Regions from separate parts of the Homo sapiens genome. Here regions 1 and 2 are each linked to region 3. Evidence: promoter capture Hi-C in 16 types of primary human blood cells and fetal thymus (Javierre and others, 2016). All regions are on one chromosome and are shown on one strand. The core of a region is centred on a gene start or on the middle of the fragment in contact, and the rest is flanking DNA. Distances in the headings are between cores, read along the strand shown. Region 1 has its middle 9.8 kb from the start of C15orf39. Region 2 overlaps LOC124903530 (a long non-coding RNA gene). Region 3 holds the start of SCAMP5 (secretory carrier membrane protein 5).

The links. The method cuts DNA at HindIII sites, captures the fragments that hold promoters and counts their contacts. A CHiCAGO score of 5 or more calls a contact.
Region 1: a fragment that was not itself captured here is called in contact with the fragment with the promoter of SCAMP5 in region 3 in 3 of 17 cell types (monocytes, M1 macrophages and fetal thymus); the score reaches 10.1 in monocytes.
Region 2: a fragment that was not itself captured here is called in contact with the fragment with the promoter of SCAMP5 in region 3 in 1 of 17 cell types (monocytes); the score reaches 5.7 in monocytes.

The regions. Positions count from the first base shown.
Region 1 is chr15:75,190,029-75,194,191 of GRCh38, forward strand. No RefSeq gene overlaps it. Among named protein-coding and RNA genes, the nearest start is that of C15orf39, 9.8 kb to the right of the region's middle. RefSeq lists an enhancer at 1,843-2,545. The HindIII fragment of the contact is 1,049 bases long and covers 1,094-2,142 here.
Region 2 is chr15:75,133,677-75,138,365 of GRCh38, forward strand. The region is part of intron 1 of LOC124903530 (a long non-coding RNA gene); the gene reads left to right. Among named protein-coding and RNA genes, the nearest start is that of C15orf39, 66 kb to the right of the region's middle. The HindIII fragment of the contact is 2,215 bases long and covers 1,852-4,066 here.
Region 3 is chr15:74,994,024-74,998,315 of GRCh38, forward strand. SCAMP5 (secretory carrier membrane protein 5) reads left to right here and starts at 1,540. Exons shown (of 7, transcript NM_138967.4): 1 at 1,540-1,650. The HindIII fragment of the contact is 14,301 bases long and covers 1-4,292 here.

The DNA.
Region 1 (4,163 bases), core at 368-2,867, 200 kb after region 3:
CGGCTCACTGAAACCCCGACCTCCTGGGCTGGGCTTAAGCAATCCTCCCACCTCAGCCTCCTGAGTAGCTGGAACTACAGGTGTGCATCATCACGCCTGGCTTTTTTTTCTTTCTTTCTTTTTTTGGTATAGAGAAGGTCTCATTATGTTACCCAGGCTGGTCTCAAACTCCTGGGCCTGAGCAATCCTCTAGGTTTGGTCTCCCAAAGTGCTAGGATTACAGGTGTGAGCCACTGCACCTGGCCCCTAATAACTTTTAGAAGCCCTAAACAGATGATCCAGTTCCTTTCACAAGCCTGTGGAAAAATGGCAGACTGAGGAGGTGGTTTTGGCTCTCTGGCCTTCACAGAACTTCTTCCTAGAGAAGGGAAAGCAGACTTCAGCCCCACGTTGTTGGGAACAGGCCCCCAAATCTGGCCATAAACAGGCCCCAAAACTGGCCATAAACAAAATATCTGCAGCACTGTGACATGCTCGTGACGGCCACGATGCCCATGTTGAAGGTTATTGTTTTACCGGAATGAGGGCAAGGAATACCTGGCCCACCCAGAGCGGAAAACCGCTTAAGGCATTACTGAACCACAAACAATAGCATGAGCGATCTGTGCCTTAAGGACATGCTCCTGCTGCAGATAACTAGCTAGACCCATCCCTTTATTACGGCCCATCCCTTTGTTTCCCATATAGGATACTTTTAGTTAATCTATAATCTATAGAAACAATGCTTATCACTCGCTTGCTGTCAATAAATATGTGGGTAAATCTCTGTTCATGGCTCTCAGCTCTGAAGGCTGTGAGTCCCCTGATTTCCCACTCTGCACTCTATATTTTTGTGTGTGAGTCTTTAATTCCTCTAGCGCTGCTGGGTTAGGGTCTCCACGACCAAGCTGGTCTCAGCACCACATCTTCTCAGAGTCCTGCCTGCTTCCTAGGAATTGGCCTGAGGAAGGAGGAACACGGGTTCACTGAGGCTCACTGCCTGCCGGGACTGATCCAGTGGCATTAGAACACTGGGCACCTGACCCTACCACAAACCTGGGGGCACAATTCATCATCCCACAGTCAAAGACCCTGGAGCTCAGAGAGGTTAAGAAGCTTGCTTCAAGTCCCACAGCCAAGAGTGCAAGTTGGGATCTGGGCCTGGATAAGGTGGCTGGTGCTGGTTTTGTCACCAGAGTATCCCTAAGAAGGCAATACTAATCCAAGCAAGGAGACACTAACAGGGGGTGTCAGCACCAGGAGAGTGATGCAGCAGTTTCCCAGCAGTGGGACTTTTCTGGAAGGAGCTGGAGGCCCATTCTGGGGTCAAATGCTGCTGCAGCCAAGCCTCCTCCACAGCTGCAGGGCATTTGCCTGGCTCCTGCTGCTGGGGTTCTAATCTCATGACTGGCCTCGGCTCAGGGTCAGCCCAAGGACACCTCTCAGTCTGGGGGCTGAGGTCAAGGCTGACTTCTGGCCTGTCTGGGTAACCTGCACCTCTCACCTGCACTGTTCACACTGGTTCCCTGGGCCTGACCTGTGTTCCCTTCACCAAGCCCGAGTTATACAGTGTGGACTCCCACCCCCCATCAAGACCCCTCTCCCTGGCCAGTGCTGCTCTATGTCAGGGAGGGAGACAACAGGGGGCTTCCCTGGAATGCTCACCTTCTGCCCTGTGCCACTGCTGCTGGCTTCCCACCACGTTGCTCCGTTGCTCACCACACTACCCACCTCTTGCCATCATCTCCGGAAGCTGGGGGCTATGACCATTCTTGTTCCAATGTTAAAGATGGGGAATCTGAGCTCAGCAAGAGGAAGCCTTGACCTCCCCTTACTCCTGAGCCACTCCACTGTGACACGGTGCCCACACGTCCACTGGCAGCACCTCACCTCTCCTTTCCTTTCTTGGCTGGAGGCTCGCTCTGACCCCACCACACAGGCTGTCCCCTACTCCCCGCTCTCAGCTCTGGCAGCCTTTCTAGCCAGAGCCCATAGTTCGGCCACTTGCAGCCTGACCATGGGCTGGGCTGGGGGGCATTCTACTCTCTTCAAGAGCTGAGGGACTGTCAGGTGAAAGATGGATGCCAGGGACTGAGGGGTCATCAGGGGGTGACGCCCGAGAGAGCCAGGAGGCCCCGGATGGAGGCCTGAAGGGATAAGCCAAGCTTCTTTCTAAATCCCTGGCTGTGCCAAAGCCACCCATGGAGACTTTCCCTTACTGACCTGACCTCAGCTGGATTTGGCATCCTCCTGGCTTCCCCAGCCAGCCAGGGCACACTGACTAGACAGAGATGGCTGAGGAAGGTGTGTGTGGAGCTGACACACGGGCCCCGGAAGTGCTGGAGAAGGCTCGTTCTGGGTGTGGACCCTCTTCTCCCTGCCCCTTACCCAATTCCCTGGGGGATTCTTTTGTTCCCCTGCCCTATGCTGGGGTGCAGGGAGGCCACCTGGGGCCTTGCCAGCCTGGACTTGCCTGAGCTCTGGGCCCTGAGGTCATGGAGACCTCCTGAAACCCTCCCCAGGGGAGCTGTTCGCAGGCAGACAGGCCCAATGAGGTGCTAATTACTGAACTAATTGGAACCTGAGCCATAGATGACCTGGTTGACAGGAGGTGGGGACTGCTGGAGCAGAGGGGGCTGTGGAATAGGGTCTGGAGGGAGGTTGAGGGAGCCCAGAGCTGGTGCAGGGTGGGCTGTGTTTGTTCAGGAATTGTTGATTTATTAGCAAGATCAGCTCTTTGAAATGCGTTCTGGTCTCCTCCATATCTCTCCTGGTCCTGGGTTTCTCTCTGGGAAAAGATTGGTGTTCTGAAGCCACTGCTTGTTGGGAGGGGTTCATCAAGAATTTGGGGGCAGAATGTTCTGCTCTGGGGAGTGACTCGAGCCGGAGGGAGGCCCACGGCCTGTCCTGAGGATTCCAGGCCTGCTGCAGCCAGCAGACGTGGCACTGGGTGGTCTTGGAGATGGGCTGTGAGAACAGAGTGACACCACTGAGCCGGGTCACCTTGGAGGGTTCTGGGACTCACCCCACACCTGGCTCTTTTGGACCTTGGCCTGCTCCTGCCCCTCTGTGAATAGCTGGTAAGGGGCCAGTGACTCTAGAGGCCTCACAAATTGGAGATGACACTGTCTGCTCCCTAAGGGGCAGGGGAGCTAAGGAGTCTACCTTGCTGCATCCAGAAAGGAAAAGCCTAGCACCCTCTCCCCTCTCCGAGACTCCCTTCTTCACAGCCCACCCTTCTGGCACAAGTCATTCTCAGCACCCTGGACCCAGGGAAGACTTTGGCCACATTGGGCCAGACCCCAACTCTCAGCAGGGTAGCATGTGGCTGTCACTCACCCATCTCTAGCCCCATTGGCTCCCCAGGGCTCCTGGCACACTCTGCACTTTCTCTGGTCTTCAGACCTTTGGCTGCCTCCAGCTCTGCCCCCTGGGCTGCTTTCTGCCTAGTCAAGTCCTCTCCACTCCACAGGCAGGCTCCGGGTTCATCTGCATAGCAGCTGAGCAGTGACCTCCTGCCTGATCTTCTGCAGCATCCCCTGCCCCCGCCCCTCCACACTCCACACACGGCCCAGGACCCAGACTGTTGGTTATGAAAGCTGGGAGGCTAACCCCCTGCCTGCTCTGAAGGCTTGTCCTCCTCTCTCCCAGAATGCTCTGAGAACTGAATGAAATGATGGATAAGAGAGGACCGTGGCAGTAACTGTGACAATTGCTCCAATTGTATGAGTGCCTATTTCTGAGCCAGGCATGGTGCTGTGTACTTTCTGCACAGGTCTCATAGCAACCCTCCAGGGCTGGAAGTTTTCCTATCCCCACTTCTCAATGAGGAAACTGAGGCTCAGAGAGGCCAAGCAACTGATTCAAAGTCACACAGTTCCTAAGTGACAGTTTGGGGACTCCAAAGTCACCATCTCTCACAATGGGAAGGGGGTTGTTGTTATTTTTTGGCCAGCCTGCTTCCTTCCCCCTTTCCCCTCCCTCCCTGCCTGCCATCATCTGCCTGGTGAGTTTGCATCACTCCTAGGGCCCAGGGGTCCAATTAGGGGACTCCCCCAGGGAAGCTGACTGAGGCAATCCATGCCCCAAGGGGGCCTCCCTGAGCTGAAGTTTTAATTAGCCATCACTGCTCTCCCTGAAACTCTGACCTGCCCATAGCTCTACCATCCCAGGCTGGCCTTGTG
Region 2 (4,689 bases), core at 1,709-4,208, 140 kb after region 3:
GCTGAGGCAGGAGAATGGTGTGAACCCGGGAGGCGGAGCTTGCAGTGAGCCGAGATGGTGCCACTGCACTCCAGCCTGGGCAACAGAGCAAGACTCCATCTCAAAAAAAAAATTATATATATATATACACACAAAAAAATTAGTCAGGTGTGGTGGTGGTGTGTGCCAGTAGTCCCAGCTACACAGGAGGCTGAGACTGGAAAATCACTTAAGCCCAGGATGCGGAGGTTGCAGTGAGCCGAGATTGTGCCACTGCACCCCGGCCTGGGCAACAGAGTAAGACCCTGTCTCAAAAACAAAAAAAAAAAAAAGAAAGGAAATAACAACAATAAAGCAATTATATGTTAATATAAATGACAGTTTTGTAAAAAGTAACTATCCTTTCCAAAACAAAAACATTTAGTGAGAAAAATGACTTTGTTTTGCATTTTTGCAAATCTCTTTAATATCTGACTTAATTGAAAAATCTTCATTCTCATATCTGTTTCTGCATTCGATCTATCAGAATACATTGTTTTGGTTGGAGTATGTGAAGAAAATTCATGTCAGTAAGATATGTAGTTAGAAAAAAGAGACTTTAAATAGCCTTTTGTGGGTATTCTTTGATAGCACATCGACTGGACAAGCAGCAGTTTCTCAAAGCAATGTAGAATCTGAAACCATAGCAATGACATATTCATACTGTTACATTAAAACTCATTGTTCCGGCTGGGCGCCGTGGCTCATGCCTGTAATCCCAGCACCTTGGGAGGCTGAGGCCAGACGTATTACATGAGGCCAGGAGTTTGAGACTAGACAGGCCAACATGACAAAACCCCGCCTCTACTAAAAATACAAAAATTAGCTGGGTTTGGTGATGCACATCTCTAATTCTAGCTACTTGGGAAGCTGAGGCACAAGAATTGCTTGAACCCGGGAGGCAGAGGTTGCAGTGAACCGAGATTTTGCCACTGAACGTCAGCCTGGGTGACAGAGCAAGACTCTGTCTCAAACAACAAAACAAAACAAAAGCCATTGCTCTCTCTTGTCCCCCCACTTTTTTTTTTAAGACAGGGTTTCACTCTGTCACCCAGGCTAGGGTACAGTGGCTTGATCATAGCTCATTGCAACCTCAGACTCCTGAGCTCAAGCAATCCTCCTGTCTCAGCCTCCTTAGTAGCTGGAACTATAGGTGTGTGCCACCACACCTGGCTAATTTTTTATTTTTTAAAATAAAGATGGGGTCTTGCTATGTTGCCCAGGCCGGTCTCCAGCTCTTCGCCTCTAGTGATCCTCCCACCTCTACCTGCCAAAGTGTTGGGATTACAGGCATGAGCCACTATACTCAGCCCTGTCTTGTACCTTAAGTGAATCTTTTATGTGAGTGTAGTTCTGTAACATTATGCATTTGTCATTTGGAAAGTACTGATAGAGTTATGCAGATCATCCAATTTTTGACACATTTTGTTAGACAATATTGAAAAATCATGTGTGTTAATATCACTACTAATCTCATAAGAAAATTGTTTAAGTAAGGCTGGGCACGGTGACTCATGCCTGTAATCCCAGCACTTTGGGAGGCCGAGGTGGGTACATCACCTGAGGTCAGGAGTTCAAGACCAGCCTGGCCAACATGGTGAAACCCCATCTTTACTAAAAATACAAAAATTAGCCAGGTGTGGTGGCGTGTGCCTGTAATTCCAGTTACTCAGGAGGCTGAGGCAGGAGAATTGCTTGAACCCAGGAGGCAGAGGTTACAGTGAGCTGAGATTATGTCATTGCACTCCAGCCTGGGTGACAGAGCAAGACTCCATCTCACACAAAAAAAAAAAAAAGAAAAGAAAGGAAAAAAAAAGTGTTTAAGTACTTAGAAGCTTGTTAAGCTCACAATGGTGGATACACATTTTCCAAAATTCTAACTTTTGCTTGAAAGCTCAAATTTTATCATTGGCAACAAATGCTGTCAGTTGCTTTTATGGAGTGACAGTTTCACTTTATTTATTGTTAAGAAATGTCTGCTAAATACCAGTCGGAATAACCATAGTTTGTCAGTCTTTCAAGTAAAAATGGTGTTCTATGAAAAAAGCAGCTAGTTTGGCTGACAACTCAGACAATCACACAAGCGCTTTTCCTTAGAGAAGCCCATCATCCTTTGGTAAGCAGCAGAAGTGCTTTCTACATACTCCTCCTTTCATCACACAAAATATCAAGCATAGAAAGATATATACTGCTCACAGATTGAGAGTTAATAAAAGTATTTTTTACTGTTCCATCAAGGTCATTCATAAATGAAATGTTTTTAAATTGCAAATACATGGCAATGAAGAATACAATGCTAGCCTGGGCAACATACTGAGACACCGTCTCTACAAAAAATAAAAAAATAGCCGATGTGGTGGTACGTGCCTGTAGTTCCAGCTAATTGGAGGCTGAAGTGGGAGGATCGCTTGAGCCCAGGATGTCAAGGCTGCAGTGTCAGGGAGGAAAAACGTTTTGTCTGCACTCAGGTTCATTGATTAGAGGTCTGTGAATTAAACTGACAAAGGACAGAATAACAGGAGAAAAGGCACACAACTTTTATGAATATTTACCTGCATGAGAGTTCACAGAAAAGAACTGAAACTCAAAGAAGTCATTAGACATGGGGACTTACACAACATTTTAACAAAGGAAAGAGGGTTTGGGCATCAAGGGTGACAAATTGTGGGGAAGTGGCTAGGAAATATATGGGGGAACGAATGGACGATAGAGGTTATTTTAGTAAGGTCTGTTTATGCAAAATCATCTTGGTATTCACAAAGGGAAATTTATGCCCTGTTTTTTGCAGCTAAGAGGAAAGCAGAGAACTCATCCTGCAACTGTTGATTCCCAGTTGCATTCCACTCAAAATAGTTCTTCTGCCAAAGTGGCTTATTTTGGAGTGGCATATTTTGATCCTCTCAGGCACTACTGCCTTAACTTGTGTTGAAGCAATGACACGTTCACTCGCCATTGCTCTCAAGCAGTCAGTCAAATGATAACACATCATTTGAATGAAAAGGGCATAGAATGTCTGAGTATTACTATAAACATAGTTTTGACCTTGCAGATCTCTAAGTATCTTGGGGACCTCCAGGGTCCATAGGCCATACTTTGACAACACTGCTGTTCCGTATTGTATTACTTGTTTACTTACTTTAACCAACAAATAAATAATTTTTTCAGACAGGATCTTGCTCTGTTACCCAGACTGGTGTGCACTGGCATAATCATAACTCACTGCAGCCTTGACCTCCCGGGCTCCATTGATCCTCCTGCCTCAGCCTCCTGAGTAGCTGGGGCTACTGGTGCATGCCACCATGCCCAGCTAATTTTTGTATTTTTTGTAGAGTTGGGGTTTCACCATGTTGCCCAGGCTGATCAGAAATTCCTGGGCTCAAGTAATCCTCCCACCTGGCCTCCCAAAGTGTTCAGATTACAGGTGTGAGCCACCACACCCAAATAAACAATTTTAAAGCACCTCTTCCATGGCTCTCTACTGCTGAGTGTAAAGTACAGATGCCTTGGCCTAAGATCCAAAGCCTTAAGTGACTGGCCTTTGCCTCTTTGCCACTGGCATGTCCTCGCTCTTTATCCAAACACAGGTCAAGCCACAGAAGTTACTGGGATTCCCAGAACGTATTTGCATGCGTTTCTGTCCCTGCGTCCATCTCCATTTTCTCCCAAGCATTCTTTAAGCCCAAGTACCACAGTCAATCTCTCTGACTCCTCCAAGAAAAGGCCATTGCAGCCATGATTAGTGAAGGGCTGCAGATACACAAGTAAGGTGGGATGCACTGCAACTCACCTAGCATCCTCCCAGGGCTTACTCTGCCATAGGATCTCTGGTGCCAGACCTAAAAATGTGTGCGGAAGGAATGGAGGCAGGTGCTGGGGAGAGGGGAGGCCTGCCAGGAATTCTAGAATGCACCAAAAAAGGCCACTTCCTTCTGTTGCCAAGGTCCTGGGTCTCTATGCTTTAGGGCAAGGGTGTCTGGGGATGGTCCTTGTGAGGGGCAACTGGGGACCCTAGTGGGGCAGGCCTAGGGCTGCCAGATAAAATATAGAAAGCTTAGTTAAAATTAGATTTAAGATAACAAATACTCTTTTAGTATAAGTATATCCCAAATACTGCATAGAACCTCCTCATCCTAAAAAAAAATTCAATGTTTATCTGAAATTCAAATGTAATGGAGTCCTGTATTGTTGTTTGGTAAATCTGGCAATCCCGTGTAGGCCTTTGCTATTCAGCTCGCTGAGCAAAGTGGCCCCTCTTCACTTACCTTGCCACCTACCAGACCTGCCCAGACCTGGTCCTGGCTGCCTCCAGGCAGCACAGCCCACTGAAAGGAACCCTTTCCGTCCCAAAGCTGCCCAGAGCCTGAGAACAGAAGCAAACTGCGCGCTTGGATGGATATGGCGGATTAGGCTATGCCTTTGGAGAACTAACTCCTCTCGGAGAAGGGGGCTCTCTCTCACAGCCAGGACCTTCTGGGGTGCCTATGCGGAGACGCCCTCCTTCCTTGACCCACTTCTTCTCCCCACTCCCCGCTGATGCCCAGCCCTCTCTCTAACCTTCCTGAGTTGCTGTCTCTGCAACTCCCCCTGCCAGGACTGGCTATCAATCCCTTCAGAAACTAAAGCCCAGTCCAGCCCCTGGGAGGCCTCCTGGGTGTCTGGGATTCCCCTGGT
Region 3 (4,292 bases), core at 290-2,789:
TTGTGGATCCCAGTGTGGACCTCAGATCTCTCTCCTAAAGGCCTATGTGAACCCCTATATCTTTCCTGAGGCCCACATGGACTCCCAACATTTTCCCTGTAGCAGCCACACTTGATAACTTCGACAGGTTCCCAGTTGTCATCTCATTGGCTGCTCTCCACAGCTCTGTAAATCAGCCTTGGCTTGCATTATAGCAGGGAGAGACAGCATGTGGGTCAACCAGGGACAGGACTGACACAGAACCCAGTTGTCCTGCCCCGAAGCCCAGGACCCTTCCTTCCTGGTTGGCCTGGTGGCAGGATGATGCTTCCTGCTCAGCCCTTCCCAGGCACCGAGGCTCTCTCCCTCCTTTTCCCCTCTGCCACACTAGTTCTTGTCTGCCTTTTTTCACTGCCACCCCCTTTTCATGCCAGCTGTGGGAGTGAGGCCCCACTCCTGGCAGGATGGAGCCAGACAATGGGCCCTTATTCTAGGCAAAGAATCCCTGCAGTGTCTCCCACCCACTGAGGCCCCCTTCCAGGCCTAGGATGGTGTGGGTGGGGGGTGGAGGGTGGGTGTATGGTGTAGGGGAAGGAGCAATTGGCTGGCAGGACAGACAGTGGCCCTGGCCCTGCCTGTAGAGATCCCACGGAGGTTTACTATGTAAACACCAATCACAATAAAATCCTGTCTTCACTCCCAGCCCATCTCTCCAAGTGGGTCTCTCTCAACCCTCCAAAGCTCTGGGTTTTTAAACATTTACCCTTGCCTCTACTCTCTCTTGGTATTCATCTCTGCATATCACTGTCTCTTTCATTCCTTTTTCTGAGTCTCTTTCTTTTTCTAAGCCTCTCCTCTCTCTCTCTCTCTCTCTCTGCTCCTTTGCGTAATTTGTCTCTATTTCTTGCCTCTTTCTTGCTTCATTATGCTCCCTTACCTATCTTATCTTTCCATGTCTTTTTTCTCTCCAGGCCTTGAGCTCTCATCTCAGTCTCTCTCTCCGTGTGTCTCTGTCTCTGTTTGCAGCTCTTCTTTCTCGTCCTCCTATGTCGTCTTTCCGTGGATCTGTGTCCTTGCCTCTCTGAATATCATCTCCGATCTTCCGTCCTCTGTTCTCTCTTTCCCCCTGCGCCTGCAGATCTGAAGGACCTTCCGCAGTCACCACACTCTCCTGCTTTCAGCTCTTTCTCACTCCTTTCTGGCACGTCCCAGAGGCTCCTGGCATAGGTATAGGAGGTTATTCTCCCCAGTTTACAGATATGGAAGCTGAGGCTCTGGCTGCTGGTGCCAGGCTCCCATCTCTGGGTCTCTTCCTTCCACCTACACGCCAGGCTCTTGTCCCTGAGGTGCCCGTCAACCACCTGATCCGGCCGGGGCCCGGGAACTAGCACCTCGGACAGCTCCTGGAAGATGCCGGGGCGGCCGGGTCGTCCTTCTCGCGAGCTCAGGAGGAGCAGCCTTAGGAGCAGAGCGGAAGTCTCGCGAGAGTGACTGCTGCAGGCAGTGGCGGCGCGGGCGCGCGCAGAGACGGCCTCGGGCGCGCGCGCGCGCGCGCGCGCTCCCCGCCCCCAGCCCCGGAGCGGCTCGCGGCCGGCTCCGCGCCGCATCGCTCGGGTGCAGCGCAGCTCAGCGCAGCGCTGCGGCCTTTCGGCAGCCGAACGGCCGCGGCAGGTGAGTCTGGGCATGAAGGCTGGGAGGAGAGCTTTGAAGGGAAGCTGGGCGCGGGGCGAGAGGTGTGGGGGTCGCTGGCTGCAGCTTTGTTCCTCCTACACTTCACCTTTGGATGCAGGAAGAAGGCCGAACTGCTGGAGAGGTGGGAGTGGAGGTGACCTTTACTGTTTGGGGCTGGGGGAGAGCGCTCAGGGCGCACCCAGGCCCCCCGAGCCCCCCAAGCCCCCCCATTCCCATCTGTGGCTCCCGCAGAGGGAACTGGGCCTTTGGGTGACGTCAGACCCTGGATCTGGAGCCTGAGCTTTGGGCCCTCCATCCCCCCCGCCAGCCCCACCTGGCGTTCCCTGGAAACCGGCCTTCTGGAGATGGCGTGCGCAGCCGGGGATGGGGGCGACTGGAAGGGGGTGCCCGTGGCTTCCTTTGGGCCTTTCCTTCCAACTAGCGCCTGCAGGTGGACCCGGGTTGACTTCCCTCACCTCCCTCGGGCGGCCGACCTTTGGATGGCGGACCTCAGCCGCCCCAGGGTTGCGAGGCGACGGGCGCGCTGGCCCAGGCCACCAGGCGGGCTCCATCAGGGCTTTGGGTGGTGAGTTGGGGGCGCCGGATTTGGCTCATTTCAACGCTGGCCGGAGGTCACGAGGATGGAGGTGAGGTGTTTGTGAACCGATCCTTGTCCTCCGCCTCGGGGAGCTCCTGGTCTGTGGGTTGGGGGAACCAAGTAGAGACTCGGACTGAGCATTCACTGTCACAGGCGGCTTAAACAAGTAATGTCCCAGCTTCCCGATGGGGAGATCAGTGAGGGCCTGGCAGACTTTCCCAGGGACACAGAGAGAAAGGGAGGCGACAGCTAGCGAATAGGAGACTTCCAGAGGTGATGGGATTTGGGTGGGAGGAGAGGCAAGAGAGGGCATTCCAGGAGAATGTATGGGCAAAGGCACAGGGATGAAAACGAGCACAGCTGTTGGGGGCTGAGCCTGGGAGCTCAGCCATGTGACTGCCCATGGGGTGGTGGAGTCTGGAGAAATTTGCAACCTGTCCCCTACATGTTCTGCCTCACGGAGCAGGGCTCTGAAAGAGGGAGATGGTTCTTGCAGGGGCATGATTGGCAGAGAGATTTTGTTTGGGGCTACACAGGTCTTGCTAACTTAGGTTTGTTCTGGGCTTGGTGAGCCTTAGGGCAAAGTCTCTAGAGCTGAGAGGGGGCTGTCTCTGGTGAATGGGCCCCTGAAAGAGGGTCTTAGGTTTAGCAAACCCCTTGGAGAGTTAGTGGGGTCCCAGGAGGGGAGTTCTAGAGAGAGACCTTGGGCTCTGTGGCTGTTTCTTTAACCGTTTCCTGAGTGGCCACCTCCAAGCAAGTTCCCCAAGTCACCTCCCCTCTCTGGGCATCTCTTTCTAGCACCTTTCTCTAGAGATGAAATAATAGGACTAAGTAGTGACCTCCCTTGAGGATGCTCCTTGTTCTAGTTTAGAGCATCCCCCCTTTCTTCTCCCTCTTCCTTTTCCTTTCCTCCCCTATCCCTCTGCCTCCCTGTCCCTATCCCCACCCCTTGCCCCCCACAGCATTTCCTTTACAGGCTGCACTTCCTTCCCTGCTGCCAGCCAGGAGTTTCGGAAGGTTTCCTGGAGGAAGTGTGATACAGCAGGTTTGACAGCAGCTTTGGGCTTAATCTGATTGGGGGAGGGCGTTAATTGCCTCCCTCCCACCCATTGGGAAAGTGTCCAAGTCTTAAGCAAGTATATGGATTGACTGTGCTCTGTGCTGGGTCCCTCCTGGAAACTCCATCCAGGAGGGAGTGAGGAGATTATGGGAGAAGACGTGAACACTTAGTGCCCAATGACTGACTCAAAATGTATGCAGCGGGATGCAGAGCAGCGATTTTTGGAAAGGCTTCCCAGAAGGGGTGGGATGTGAGAAGGTAGCAGGACTTAGAGGAGCTGATAGTGCTGCCAATTTAGGGGCACTGGAAGCAGAGGGGGCGGCTAGAGATGATCTCCTGCATGAGGCTGGGAGTGTAGGAGGCAGGTCAACCTGTGAGCAGCCAAAGGTGGTGGGAGGGAGGTTTGTAGCTGACTGGCACAAAGCCTTGAATGCCAGGCAAAGATCTGTAGGAGGCTACTGAATAGTCATCAGTAGGACAGGGACAGCATGGCCAGGAGACTGCTGTTTTCTGAGGATTATTCATAGTTCTGGGATTTCAGGGCAGAAGATGGGGCTAGGAGTGGGATGAGGGGATTGGAGGTAGAGCAGGAGGGGGAAACTTCCATCTTAGCAGGTTGGCTCTGGGCAGCAAAAAGGAATCACCATTTCTGTGCCAGGGATGAGGGGCCCATACTGGTGAGCAGGGAGCCCTGGAGTTAGCCCCAGGACTCTGGCCTGATCTGAAGCCAGGCTTGACCCTCGTCTGCTGCCAGAGGCCTCAGTCTCCCCACTGTGGGGGCTTCTGTCCTAGCTTCACAATAAGGAATGGAATACATTATAGTTAGGGTTTCATGAACAAAATTCAGGTAGTAACTGCTATCTTATTGATAATTAAGGTGTTTCCCTAGGCCTACATCTTTGGAGGGATATGTAGCCCTTATCCCCATTATAAAAGATTATCAGTTGAGCAGATTGCTAATTCTTCTGTTTTGTAGTCTAAGAA